Linked DNA regions of Homo sapiens: all the other regions are linked to region 5. Evidence: promoter capture Hi-C in human tissues and cell types (Jung and others, 2019). All regions are on one chromosome and are shown on one strand. The core of a region is centred on a gene start or on the middle of the fragment in contact, and the rest is flanking DNA. Distances in the headings are between cores, read along the strand shown. Region 1 has its middle 100 kb from the start of LINC02855. Region 2 has its middle 83 kb from the start of LINC02855. Region 3 has its middle 160 kb from the start of HAS2. Region 4 has its middle 230 kb from the start of HAS2. Region 5 holds the start of HAS2 (hyaluronan synthase 2).

The links. Contacts are between HindIII fragments. The study calls those that stand out against the background at their distance.
Region 1: a contact is called between a fragment that was not itself captured here and the fragment with the promoter of HAS2 in region 5, in 2 of the 25 tissues and cell types used here (hippocampus and mesendoderm cells).
Region 2: a contact is called between a fragment that was not itself captured here and the fragment with the promoter of HAS2 in region 5, in 2 of the 25 tissues and cell types used here (mesendoderm cells and thymus).
Region 3: a contact is called between a fragment that was not itself captured here and the fragment with the promoter of HAS2 in region 5, in 2 of the 25 tissues and cell types used here (IMR-90 fibroblasts and dorsolateral prefrontal cortex).
Region 4: a contact is called between a fragment that was not itself captured here and the fragment with the promoter of HAS2 in region 5, in 3 of the 25 tissues and cell types used here (aorta, dorsolateral prefrontal cortex and heart right ventricle).

What each region holds. Positions count from the first base shown.
Region 1 is chr8:121,798,839-121,801,538 of GRCh38, reverse strand. No RefSeq gene overlaps it. Among named protein-coding and RNA genes, the nearest start is that of LINC02855, 100 kb to the right of the region's middle. The HindIII fragment of the contact is 3,754 bases long and covers 1-2,700 here.
Region 2 is chr8:121,779,565-121,782,264 of GRCh38, reverse strand. No RefSeq gene overlaps it. Among named protein-coding and RNA genes, the nearest start is that of LINC02855, 83 kb to the right of the region's middle. The HindIII fragment of the contact is 5,746 bases long and covers 1-2,700 here.
Region 3 is chr8:121,481,849-121,484,548 of GRCh38, reverse strand. No RefSeq gene overlaps it. Among named protein-coding and RNA genes, the nearest start is that of HAS2, 160 kb to the left of the region's middle. The HindIII fragment of the contact is 3,178 bases long and covers 1-2,700 here.
Region 4 is chr8:121,409,203-121,411,902 of GRCh38, reverse strand. No RefSeq gene overlaps it. Among named protein-coding and RNA genes, the nearest start is that of HAS2, 230 kb to the left of the region's middle. The HindIII fragment of the contact is 3,904 bases long and covers 1-2,700 here.
Region 5 is chr8:121,639,992-121,642,691 of GRCh38, reverse strand. It overlaps HAS2 (hyaluronan synthase 2), which reads left to right and starts at 1,252. Exons shown (of 4, transcript NM_005328.3): 1 at 1,252-1,839. It also overlaps HAS2-AS1. RefSeq lists an enhancer at 1-593. The HindIII fragment of the contact is 13,134 bases long and covers 1-2,700 here.

The sequences.
Region 1 (2,700 bases), core at 31-2,530, 160 kb before region 5:
CTAAAAAGGGTTAATCTTGTCAGTGAGTAAAGTTTCCTGGTGGGTAGCTGAGTTTCTCCAGTCCCTAAATTCATTATTATAGTGTTCTTCCTCCCTTCTTATGTCTTATCTTTGCCTGCCTTATCTCATCTGGGTATCTGTGCCAGGGTTTTCACAGCAGAAAATTTGACACATACAAACACCACACACGCGTGCACACACACAGAACTGAAAAGCTGAGACACTGAGAATTGCCGACATATCTCAGGCTACTAACTGCTCTGCCAGGAACTTACAGAAAATAGAAACAAAATATTGATGAAGCCTGAATTTTAAGGAAAAATTAACATGTCTTGGTTTTCTGCTTAATTGTACTCTACACATCCCTGTTAATGTGCCATGTTGGGAAATTTGAAGCCGTCATTATCTCTGTATCAAAGAGATACAGCGTTGTGCAAAAAATAACAAATGTTAACAAATAAACTGAACATTCTAGAAAAAATTAATAAATGAGCATATTTGGGGAGAAATAAGAAAATAAGCTTATCAGTGATTAAAGTTGGAAGACAATAAGAGAAAGTAAACACATAATTTGTGAGAACTGAATTAAGAAAAACAATGATATTAATTGTAAATTGAACGTCAGAGAAAATATGTTGGCAGTGTGAACTAATTAAATTGTAGAATCTAATCTCCCAAGGGAAGGGGTGGACACTTCATCTAGCATATTAGAGGCAAAATTCTCACTGGCAGGAGTTAGGGTAAAAATGACCTAATAGGTCTTTTCCAACTCTGATTTCTATCATTTGGCTAGGGAAACCTAGCCAGGAGTTACACAATTAAGCATCTTTGTGGAAAAAAATAAACACAGAACTATCAGATAATGCAGATGCACCCCCACCCCTGAAAAAACATAAAAGCAACGATCACACCACCAAAAAAGCCACAGGATCCAAACCAGAATGGCCCAGAAGAACAATTCTTGACATGGACCATAGATAAATAGATTCATTCATTCCCCTAATTTTCTTAATCCTCAAATCTGAATGGACTAGGGTGGTGGGCTTTCAGGGGTGCTGGAAGGCAGGGGCTTTGCATAATCTTCCCCTGAAGGTTTGCTCTGTTTGGAAGAGGTTATCCTTTGAAGATGACTGGATAGGTTCCAGCAAGTTTTTTCCGACTTTCACAATCTTTTGCCCACTTTCCTTCACCCGTTCTTCTTGGCTCTACCCATCTCTGGGAAAAATGGGAAAACTATAAAACCTTAGATCTTTTCTTGAAGAATTGTGAGTAGAGCATTATATCCTAATAGGCTGTTGCCAAATCCAAACCCTATTCAAAGAAAATCCACTTTGAAAACGGAGTCTGTGGAGATGTGGACATTCCTGGGAAAATACATTTTCTCTTCTTACTTTTTGTTTTCTCTCTTTATTGGAGGGCTTAAAAGTTTTTTGGTTGCATTATTTGATTCAGGGCTTTCGTTATTCTGGCTTTTAGAAATTACCACCAATGGAGACAGAACAGAGTAGATTATACAAAAATGTCTGTGACTGTTTTGACTGGAAAAAAGACTCTTACTCAGGCAAACTGGGGAAATTAGAAGAAGAATAGCTTGGCGGTTTGTAGTTCGAGAACTAGCAACACTGAGTACCAACCCCAGTTCTGAGTCTTTTATTTCTCTCACTCTTGCCTTTATAAATGCCTATTTTGGGATTTTATCTCTGAATCATTGAAGTTAGGCAATCAGAAAAAAAAAAAACTGGCATGGATAGGTTTGACTTTGTATTTTCTCAAGAGAATTTAACAGCTGCAACCTTTTGGATAAATAACGTTCATTTTCTAGCCACAAAAGAACTTTTTTAAAGCCCGTGGAGTCCAGGATAATTACATTTTAAAGTCTACCTCTACTTGGCTTGCTTCTGTTAGACTTTCTAGCTCTGCTCAGCTCCTTAGTAGACTTCAAAGAGGAACAAACCTAGATGCAAAACTGCTTAAGGACAGTCACAATCCTAAGGGCATGTTTTGTGCAGGTATTGATAAACGAAGGGAAAGTCCAGCACAATAAAAATCTGGCTTTTCTGGTTCTTTCATATACTTCTTCTGAGGGGGGGGCGGGTATTTTTCACATTTTCTACAGTCAGTATTACTTAATTTACTCATTTTCACTCAACAAATATTTTTGAGCAGCTATTAGATACTAGGTGATCTAGACCCTGGAAATATAACATTGAAACAAAACAAAACAAAATGACATATTTTTTAAAAAAAAGAAATAAAAATAAACGTAACAATGGCATATACAAATACGAAACCAAGTTTATAGGAAATTAAGAAGAAGGGAAGATAGAGATAAAAGAAGGAAAAGAAGGAGAAGAATTCTTTCTGCAAGTCATTTTGTTTTTATTTGCAAAAGACCCAAAAACAGAAAGTTAAGGTGTTGATTTTATTTCCCTTAGAAAACTGAGTAAGTATCTTCCCACTTTAACTACTGGCTAATTTACATAAACCAAACTTTTTTTTTTTTCTGGAAAAATCTCATGGCAGTGATAACTTTTGTTTTTATAAATGAGCTTCTCCAGTTGTGTCATATATACGTGTCAATGCATATATTTTCTTTTTTAAAAAATATGAATTAAATGAATGAAGAGCAATTCATTTTAAGTGGAGGATTATGGATAATCCTATTTACTTTATGAGTTTTCTACAATCATTATTGCTGAT
Region 2 (2,700 bases), core at 193-2,692, 140 kb before region 5:
TAATCCTCCCACCCTTAAGAAGGTTCTCTGTAATCCTCCCACCCTTAAGAAGGTTCTCTGTAATCCTCCCACCCTTAAGAAGGTTCTCTGTAATCCTCCCACCCTTAAGAAGGTTCTCTGTAATCCTCCCACCCTTAAGAAGGTTCTCTGTAATCCTCCCACCCTTAAGAAGGTTCTCTGTAATCCTCCCACCCTTAAGAAGGTTCTCTGTAATTCTCCCACCCTTAAGAAGGTTCTCTGTAATTCTCCCACCCTTAAGAAGGTTCTCTGTAATCCTCCCACCCTTAAGAAGTTTCTCTGTAATCCTCCCACCCTTAAGAAGGTTCTTTGTAATCCTCCCACCCTTAAGAAGGTTCTCTGTAATCCTCCCACCCTTAAGAAGGTTCTCTGTAATTCTCCCACCCTTAAGAAGGTTCTCTGTAATCCTCCCACCCTTAAGAAGGTTCTCTGTAATCCTCCCACCCTTAAGAAGGTTCTCTGTAATCCTCCCACCCTTAAGAAGGTTCTTTGTAATTCTCCCCACCCTTAAGAAGGTTCTTTGTAATCCTCCCACCCTTAAGAAGGTTCTCTGTAATTCTCCCACCCTTGAGGATGTACTTTGTGAGATCCACCCCCTGCCCACAAAACATTGCTCTTAACTCCACCGCCTATCCCCAAAACCTATAAGAACTAAAGATAATCCCACCACCTTTGCTGATTCTCTTTTTGGACTCAGCCTGCCTGTACCCAGGTGAAAGAAATAGCCTTGTTGCTCACACAAAGCCTATTTGGTGGTCTCTTTACACAGACGTGTGAGACACTAGGGATAAGTCTGGGAACATGGGTTGCGATTTTAAAACAGGGTGATTGAGGTAGGCTTCACTGAAACGGTGACATATAAAGAAAGACGTAAAGGAAGTGAGCGAGTTAGCCCCATGGATGTCTGGTATAAGATCATTCCAGATATATGAAATAGGCCTATGGTGGAATGGCTGGCATATTTTAGGGCCAGAAAAGAGACAGGCGGAGCAAGAGTGAGACTAGAAGAATAGAACAAGAATAGAAGTGCAAGGGGATAATAGGACACTAGATCATGGAAGCAATTGTGCTGCATTGTAGGAGCTTTGGCTTTAGTTTTGCATGAGGTGAGAGCCAGTGGAGGATTTGAGCAAACCAGTAAACATGATAATGACCTTTGTTTTAAGAAATTACTTTAACTGTAAATTGAGAACAGACTAAAGAGAGGCAAAGGAAAGGAGAACTGTTAAGAGCCTATTGCATAGAGGGGTGGTGTCATGGATCAGAGTGGTAGCAGTGGAGGTGTGAGACAACAGCAAATTCTGGATATACTTTGAAAGTAGTGGCTGGGAGTGGTGGCTCAAGCCTGTAATCCCAGCATTTTGGGAGGTTGAGGCAGGTGGATCACGAGGTCAGGAGATCGAGACCATCCTGGCTAACACGGTGAAACCCCATCTCTACTAAAAATACAAAAAATTAGCTGGGTGTGGTGGCGGGCGCCTGTAGTCCCAGCTACTTGGGAGGCTGAGGCAGGAGAATGGTGTGAACCCGGGAGGCGGAGCTTGCAGTGAGCTGAGATCGTGCCACTGCACTCCAGCCTGGGCGACAGAGCGAGACTCTGTCTCAAAAAAAAAAGAAAGTAGAACCAAAGAAAAAGATTCCCTCCTGAAATATTGAAAGCAGAACGTGAGAGAAAGAGAAGACTCAGGGACAATCCCAAGGTCTGAGAAAATGAAAGGGTAGCATTTGCACTAAGTATATTTTCCTGAAACTTATCTTGATTCACAATATATAATGAACATTATTCCATGTCCAGTCACATAGAAATACCTCATTTTAAACAGTTTCTTAGTGGTCTATTTTATGGTTATTCTCTAATTTATTTAACCAGTGTATGATTGCTCTCTTATTATTTTTCCTAATTTTCTTCTGTAAGGTTTTAGAATTACTTTTTTAAAAAATTTAATCTTGTTAATTTTTTTGAACAGACCAATGTAGTAGCCTAAATCAGCATTTAAAGAACTACTAGTGAATCTTTCAGAAATCTAGTTCATTAGCAAAATGAAACATTCATATATGTTCGTGCTACTTTATAATGCCTTTCAAGTGTTTCATTACTAGATCCACGTGTTCAATAATTTTTTTTTATTACGTTCACTGTGATCAGAACTTTGGAGAGAAATAGACTTCAATTCCATTCCTGGAGAAGTTCTGCACCCGAAAATGAAACACAGAGAGCTTTGTATAGAAAAGGGCCATGGCATAAGATAAGATAAATACGTAAGAAATGTATTCATATATTTATTATTCATATATTTATCTAATATTTAGAATAGGAGTTCATGGTAATTCTTAAGTTGTCTTACTTATGACATAAATATATAACTACATTCTTAGTCTGGCTAAGAATGGTGAGTTTATGCTATTCATCACTTATTAAAACAATGATTTAATCACTTATAAGTCCTGCCATTTATAGAAGTGGTAGGATTAATCATATAATCACATAAATTTATTTTTGGGGTTGTTTAGTTGTTTTGTAATTATTCAAGAGATATATCTATGTCACCAAAAAAAAATCTATTTACCTAGATGATAATTTTTAAATAAACATCAAATTTCTTACTTCTCTAGGTAAGGAAGAATAGACTAGTCTCTTGCTAGAAATCACCACAAAATGGCTTGACTGGTTCTATTAGTACA
Region 3 (2,700 bases), core at 60-2,559, 160 kb after region 5:
GATGGAAAGAGAAGTAATTGGAAACCTACGCACTAGCTAGAAGTTCCCGATTCATTCCAAGTGTGAGGTTATGAGGATGTAAACTAGGATGTTAGGCTGAAGATTATTTTGAAGTTCTGACTTTTTTGATATAATGCATATAAAAGTATTAGAAACGTAGGAACATATGATATTTATGTTTTAGTGAAAAGGGTAATTTGATAGCTGATGTCAGAACCAGATGTATTTATAGCCTTGCAGATTTTTATGTGTACCCACAAATATGTTAATTCTCCACTTTCAACATAGTTTTATTTGGCCTAGAGCAACTCGCAGAAATTTTTTTGGACCCTAGCAGCCAAATACTCAAGTAGTATCAGTAAAAGCCATATTATGAAAGTTTAAGGCATAAGTAACGACACAATAGCTGAAGGGGCAAAATTGGGCTTCAGAAGTTTTTGTCTGTTTGCATGAAAATTATGTGTGCGTGTGTGTTTATTTTGAATTCAATTATTTGTTAGCATTTGATTTAATTTTTTTCTTGTGTGCATTTTTAATTAAATAGAAACATGCTTCGCAATGTGATTTTTCTTTTTTTCTCTTAATACAAAATGGCATCTTTGCCAGTGAATATAGATCTATTTTAAAATTCTTATTTAAGAAATTATATTTAACAAAAATTATATATATTTATGGTGTACAATGTAAAGCCTTGATATATGTACACATTGTGAAATGGCTAAACCAAGCTATTTAACACATGTATTACTTCACATACTTATCTTTTTTTGATGACACACTTAAAATTGATTTTCAGTAATTTTCAAATATGTAATACATTGTTATTAACTATAGTCATCATAACGTACAACAGATCTCTTGAACTTATTCCTCCTATCTCACTGAAATTTTTGTATCCTTTGACCAACACCTCCTCAAATCTTCCAACCCTCAGCCTCTGGTACCCACCATTTTACTGTTTCTATGAGTTGGATTTTTTTACACTCCATATATAAATCAGGTCATGTTGTATTTGTCTTTCTGTGCCTGGCTTATTTCACTTAACATAGTATCCTCCAGGTTCAGCCATGCTGTCACATGATTTTCTCCTTTTAAAAGATTGCATAGTTTCCATTGTGTATATAGAGCCAGTTTTCTCTATCGATTCATCCATTAATGAACACTTAGGTTGATCTCATATCTTGGCTATTGTGAATAATACTGTAATGAATATGGGAGGGCAGATATCTCTTTGACATATTGTTTTATATCCTTTGACTATATACCCAGCAAAAGGATTGCTGAATTATATGGTAACTCTATTTTTAATTTTTTTGAGAAACCTCCATATTATTTTCCATAATGAGTGTACAAATTTACATTCCCACCACCAGTGTACAAGAGTTCTCTTTTGTCCACATTCTCTCCAACACTTGTTACCTTTTGTCTTTTTGATAATAGCCTGCCAGCATTTTAAAATGTAGAATTTAATATAAAACATATATTTTCAGGTTCTATTAAAATGTCAGATGCACCATTACTGGGCCAGTATTCCCACAAGAAAACAGTCCTGTCTCCAAATATTGCTTAGGCTCAGCTTAAAGGGACACAGGTGGCTTCTGTGGGTGTCTAGCCAATAATTAGGGGCTGTTTATATAGACTCTTCAAAAATGTTTCCTCTTTAACAGTAGAAGCGCATGAGCAATACTACTCTACAAATCACAGGCTACTTTGGTAAAATTTATTGATTAAAAGAGTGTATTGTTTTTGCTTATTTACTTAGTTTTTAAAAAGGAATATTTAGGCCGGGCACGGTGGCTCACGCCTGTAATCCCAGCACATTAGGAGGCTAAGGTGGATGGATCACAAGGTCAGTAGATTGAGACCATCGTGGCTAACATGGTGAAACCCTGTCTCTACTAAAAATACAAAAAATTAGCTGGGCGTGGTGGCGGGTGCCTGTAGTTCCAGCTACTCGGGAGGCTGAGGCAGGAGAGTGGCATGAACCCGAGAGGCGGAGCTTGCAGTGAGCCAGATCGCGCCACTGCACTCCAGCCTGGGTGACAGAGCGAGTTTCCGTCTCAAAAAAAAAAAAAAAAAAAAAAAAAAGAAAAGAGGAAATATTTAGAGAAATTAAATAATCTGGCCTCTTAATAAAATGTGTAAAATTTATGCACAGGAATAAATTTATTTCTTAAAACAAAACTATAATTTTGCTAATAGATGAGGGAAGAATTCATGAAGTATAGTAACAGTATATGGCTTGCAAGTCTAACTTTAGCCTGTGATTTATTTTTCTATATTTGCTAACATATTATAGCATACCATAGTATTTTAAAACAGTTTCAGGAACTGTGAGATTGAGTTCTAATTGAAATGCCCTAATAGATTTTTAGTTAGGGATAGTTTGATAGTAACTCACTCAACTCATTCAGACTAACTTAGGTAAAAAAGGGAATTTAGGCCGGGCGCGGGGGCTCACGCCTGTAATCCCAGCACTTTGGGAGGCCGAGGCAGGCGGATCACGAGGTCAGGAGATCGAGACCATCCTAGCTAACACGGTGAAACCCCGTCTCTACTAAAAATACAAAAAATTAGCCGGGCGAGGTGGCGGGAACCTGTAGTCCCAGCTACTCAGGAGGCTGAGGCAGGAGAATGGGTGAACCCCGGGGGGCGGAGCCTGCAGTGAGCCGAGATCGCGCCATTGCACTCCAGCCTGGG
Region 4 (2,700 bases), core at 30-2,529, 230 kb after region 5:
AGTGTAGCCACTAGAGAGAACAGTATGAATGTTTCTCAAAAAACTAAAAATAAAACTACCATATGATCCAGTAATCCCACTGCTAGGTATAGACCCAAAAGAAAGGAAACAGTATATCAAAGAGATATCTGCAGTGCCCTCTCTATTGCAGCACTGTTCAGAATAGCCAAGACCTAGAAGCAACATAAGTGTACATCAACAGATGAATGGGGCGGGGCATGGTGGCTCACGCCTGTAATCCCTGCACTTTGGGAGGCCGAGGCGGACGGATCACGAGGTCAGGAGATCGAGACCATCCTGGCTAACACGGTGAAACCCCGTCTCTACTAAAAATACAAAAAATTAGCCGGGCGTGGTGGCGGGCACCTGTCGTCCCAGCTACTCAGGAGGCTGAGGCAGGAGAATGGCGTGAACCCAGGAGGCAGAGCTTGCAGTGAGCCGAGATCATGCCACTACACTCCAGCCTGGGCAACACAGTGAGACTCCGTCAAAAAAACAAAACAAAACAGATGAATGGATATGTAGTACATATATACGTAACGGAGTACCAATCAGCCATTAAAAAGTGAGATCCGGGCCAGGTGCGGTGGTTCACGCCTGTAATCCCAGCACTTTGGGTGGCTGAGACGGGTGGATCACGAGGTCAGAAGTTCGAGACCAGCCTGACCAACATGGTGAAACCCTGTCTCTACTAAAAATACAAAAATTAGCCAGGCGTGGTGGCGTGCGCCTGTAATCCCAGCTACTTGGGAGGCTGAGGCAGAAGAATCGCTTGAACTTGGGAGGTGGAGGTTGCAGTGAGCCGAGATCGCACCATTGCACTCCAGCCTGGCGACACAGCGAGACTCTTATCTAAAGAAAAAAAGTGAGATCCTGTCATGTACAACAACGTGGAGGAAACTGGATGACATTATGCTCTGTGAGATAAACCAGGAACAGAAGACAAACTTTGCATGTTCTCACTCATTTGTGGGAGCTAAACATTAAAACAGTTGAACTCATCATGATAGAGAGTACAAGGATGGTTAACAGAGGCTGGGAAGGGTAGTGGGGGCAGTGGAGTGGGGATGGTTAATGGGCATAAAAGTATAGTTAGATAAAATGGGTAAGATCTAGTCTTTGATAGCACAACAGGGTGACTACCTTCAACAATAATTTTTTTGTACATTTTTAAATAACTAAATGAGTGTAACTGGAATGTTTGTAACACAAAGAAATGATACGTTTTTGAGGTAATGAATACCCTATTTACCCTGAGTGATTATTATGCATTGTATGCCTGTAACAAAATATCTTATGTACATCATAAATATATATACCTACTATGTACCCATAATTTTTCTTTTAAAGATTGAGCTCTGGAGTCAGATTATATAGGCCCATGTTTTACTAGTTGGGTGACTTTGTACAAATTGCTTGATTTCTGTCTCAGTTTTCTCACCTGTAAATAAAAATAGCATTAGTTTCCATTTCATAGGATTGCTTTAACAGTAAGAATTATTATAGTTTCTGTACCTTGAACATTTCTTACACATAGGAAGAGATGAATAAGACGAGACACCCAAGGCTTAGAAAAGTCAAGCAACTCGCCCATGGTAACACACTTAGGGAGTGGAGGAAGTAGGCCTTGCACCCAGTTTTATTTGATTCCAAAGCCTGTGTTCTTTTTATTATTTTAGCAATTTTCAAACCTGAGTAATTAACAGATACCTTTTAAAAGAAACAAAAGTTATGTTTAATAAATACCAGTGTTGCCTTAAATGATTATTAGCATGTTGCTAAAATATGTGCAAATCAAAACCTGCTTATAACTCCTTATGCATGTAAATGACTTAAGCTATAACATTCAAACACATTTACTAATTCAATGCAGGTGAAAGATGCAACACAGTTAAATTCAGTTTTCTAACATTTATTTAATGTGATGGATGTTGTTGTTCTCTTGAAACTAAAAACCACTCACAAGTGAACATCATACTCACAGCTAAGGTTCAAGTTCTCTTGTGGTCATCATACCCATACATCTGTGTGCCATGAGATCTGTCAATTTTTCCACCACTTTGCTCTGTTCCAACCACTGCAAAACCCTAACATGATGTCACTTGGCCCTCACTTAGCAGAAATTCACTGTTTACACAGTAATTCTTCCTCCATTTTTTTTTCACTTAAGCCAATGATAAAGTAGAACTACTTGGGTATAACATACTCAAAAAAACAAACCAAAACACTATGAAGATTCTCCCATATAAGGGCAATGATTGATTTTGAGATTGCCATCGGGTGGTCAAAAATGTGCTTATGTAAATAGTTTTAGTTTACCATTGATATGAAATTCCTAAATTGAAAAATCTCATGAACCTTTGGGAATACGCCTGGGGATCCCCAGAGGACCAAAGATCCTAGTTTAGGAAATTCTGAGTTGTTCTATCTTGGCCTAACTGCTGTCTCCTCCTGCCTGGAAGAAGCTTTAGCTTATTCCACACTTGAATTATTAATAAAATAATGCTTGTGTCATGATGCTACCAAGTGGAACTGGCTAGAAGGAGGTAAGAAGCAAGACTGAATTACCTTCTCAAACTTTTATTTTTATTTATTTATTTTTTTGAGATGGAGTCTCCCTCTGTTGTCCAGGCTGGATGGAGTGCAGTGGCACAATCTCGACTCACTGCAACTTCCATCTCCTGGGTTCAAGCGATTCTC
Region 5 (2,700 bases), core at 3-2,502:
ACTTTTCTGTTTAGACTTATTCATTATAGCCCATATATGTGATAAGGACTAAGAACCCAGTCTTCAAGGTCCTGTCGAGTTCCAAAGAAGTCCACCCCTCAGAAGATCCTTGGAAGGGGAAGAAGGAAAAAAGAAAGAAAGAAAAATCTGTTTTACCCTATAACAATTTCAGCGCAATCTCCCAAGACCAAGTTGGTTAATTTGTAAAGTCACTCTCATTTTTTCCTCAACAGTGCCACCTACTGTCCATTTTCAGTCATCAGCAGGCTTGTTGGCAAGGTCCAAGAGAAAGAAAGGAGGCGGAGTGGTGGGGGGAGGAGTAACCAAAAAACGAACTCTACCCAGCCTTGGGGCATTGTGAAAACGACGAGGAAAGGCCATCTCCAAGCAAGACATATTTGTCCTCGTCAACTTTGCAGAAGGCTTGCAAAAAGCAAAAGCCAGTTAAGCCATTTCCTTCAAGATGGCTAAATATAAGTCCTCCAGAAAACAATTTTTATTATTTTATTTTTAATGCGCGCTGTTTGAGTATGTTTACGTTAGGGGACCAGATTGAGCAAAAATATACATATAATTACTTTTCTATGTTTTCCGCCCACCCACGGCAGAAACCTCTTTATGAGAAAGGCTTTGACACTTGACGTCAGCTCAGAAACTTTTGAGTTGGCGGGAAGAAAGGGTTAACAAGTGGTGGACCAGCGCGATCTTTTTAGAGTCCCAGCCGGCTGTCGAAGGCTCCAGGTACACACACACACGCACACACTTACACACACACACACACACGTGCACACACCCCTCCCAACTGTTCCTCCTTGGGTCGGTTACTTAGCTGAAGGGCACCATTTGGCTTTAAAACAAATTACTTCAGCGCCACAGGGAGTTTATCGCTTGGAGGGAACTTGTAACGCGGGAGTTCAGGGAAATCCAAGAGGCGAGGGCTCCCACCTCCGCCGCCAGAGGAAAGTAAGGAATCAGGTGGTGGCCCCCTATGTGTCTTGCATTTCTCTGCACACGTTAGCAATCAAGTTAATTGAATTCATTGGAGTTTAGAACCGGCCTGTAGCTCAGAGAAGGCTTTGAATGGCCAATTTCTCTCTCTCCCTCTCCCCCTCCCCGCCTCCCGCTCGCCCGCCCGCCCGCGCTCCCAGTTCCCTCCCCTCAGGGTTCCCCAGTCCACACCTCCCTCTCCACTTCCCTCACCCCCCCACTCCCTCCGCCGCCCTATTAAAACACCCACCAGCTCACTTGTTAAGACCCCCTTAAGTTGGAGGAGGCAGAAGGGCAACAACGGCGGGGAAGGAGAAGTCAAGACGTCTGGAAAGAATTACCCAGTCCTGGCTTCGAGCAGCCCATTGAACCAGAGACTTGAAACAGCCCCAGCCAAAGACTTTTCTCCCAATTCTGCGCTTCCTGGGTTCTGCTGAGTCTTCCACAGGCTTTTTTTTTTTTTTTTTTTTTTTTTAAGACGAAAAAGAGATTTTCTGTTATCGGGGGCAGAAAGACTGAAGCCCAAAAAAAAAAAAAAAAAAAAAAGAAAAGAAAAGAAAAAAGAAAAGTTAATTTATTTTTAAAGCATAATTTTTTTAAGAATTAGACTGAAGTGCAACGGAAACATAAAGAGAATATTAGTGAAATTATTTTTTAAAGTGGGGAAGAATCAAACATTTAAGACTCCCCTATCCTTTTTAAATGTTGTTTTTAAATTTCTTATTTTTTTTGGCCGGTCGTCTCAAATTCATCTGATCTCTTATTACCTCAATTTTGGAAACTGCCCGCCACCGACCCTCCGGGACCACACAGACAGGCTGAGGACGACTTTATGACCAAGAGCTGAACAAGGTACGTTACACTGGCGCGTTTTGGTGAAGGATGAAGGTCCTCCAACAGGCCAGGGAGAAGGAAGACATCCTTATAATTGTTTTAAAATTTTTAAGCCAGTTTCGATAGAAAAGTTGGAAGTTTAAAAATTTCCAACAGACTGAAGATCAGGGAATATTTCAGGTCACTGTCAGGCTTAGCAACATAGCCCTCTTTTCCCATTTCTGCGGCTCTCGCCAGAAATCCGCTGCCTTTCTGGGGACACAGGTAGCCTCTCTGCCTGGGAAAGGCTGCACGTCCTCAGATGTACTTTTCCATTTTGCATCTTCCGGAGCAGCAGAGGGGCTCCAGAGTTAGGAAACAAGAATTCCCAATGTAAGGAAAATGCATTCTGCACAGCCGCCCCACCCCTTCCCTTCTTTTTTTCCCACACACACACACACACACACACACTGTGGGGAGAAAAACTGGAATAGCCCAGCGCGTTTTACTTCTAAGTGAAAAAGTCGCTTCTTGCTGGGAATGCAAAGGGTTAAGCAATCTGGGCTTCCAGCTCCGACAAGCTGGGACCCTGGAGAAGGAGGGTCCTTCTCTACCTCCTCGCAGCTACCATCCCCTCTCGGCCACTCCCCCCTTTCCCGGGCCTCCCCTCCTTTGCACTTCCCGCACCCCATTAAAGTGTCAGGCTCGTCAGTCTGGGCTTACTCGGGCCAGGGGTCCCTGACGCAGGCGGTGGCACCCGCAGATAGGAGCGGGAGGAGGGCGCGCATCCCTCCTCTCCTCGCCGGGCCAGCCCGCCGGCCGCCCGGAGGCAGGGCGTGCGTGGGGACCGCGCGCTGCGCTTCGGCAGCTGCGGCGTCCCCAGAGCCAATTCCGACGTGG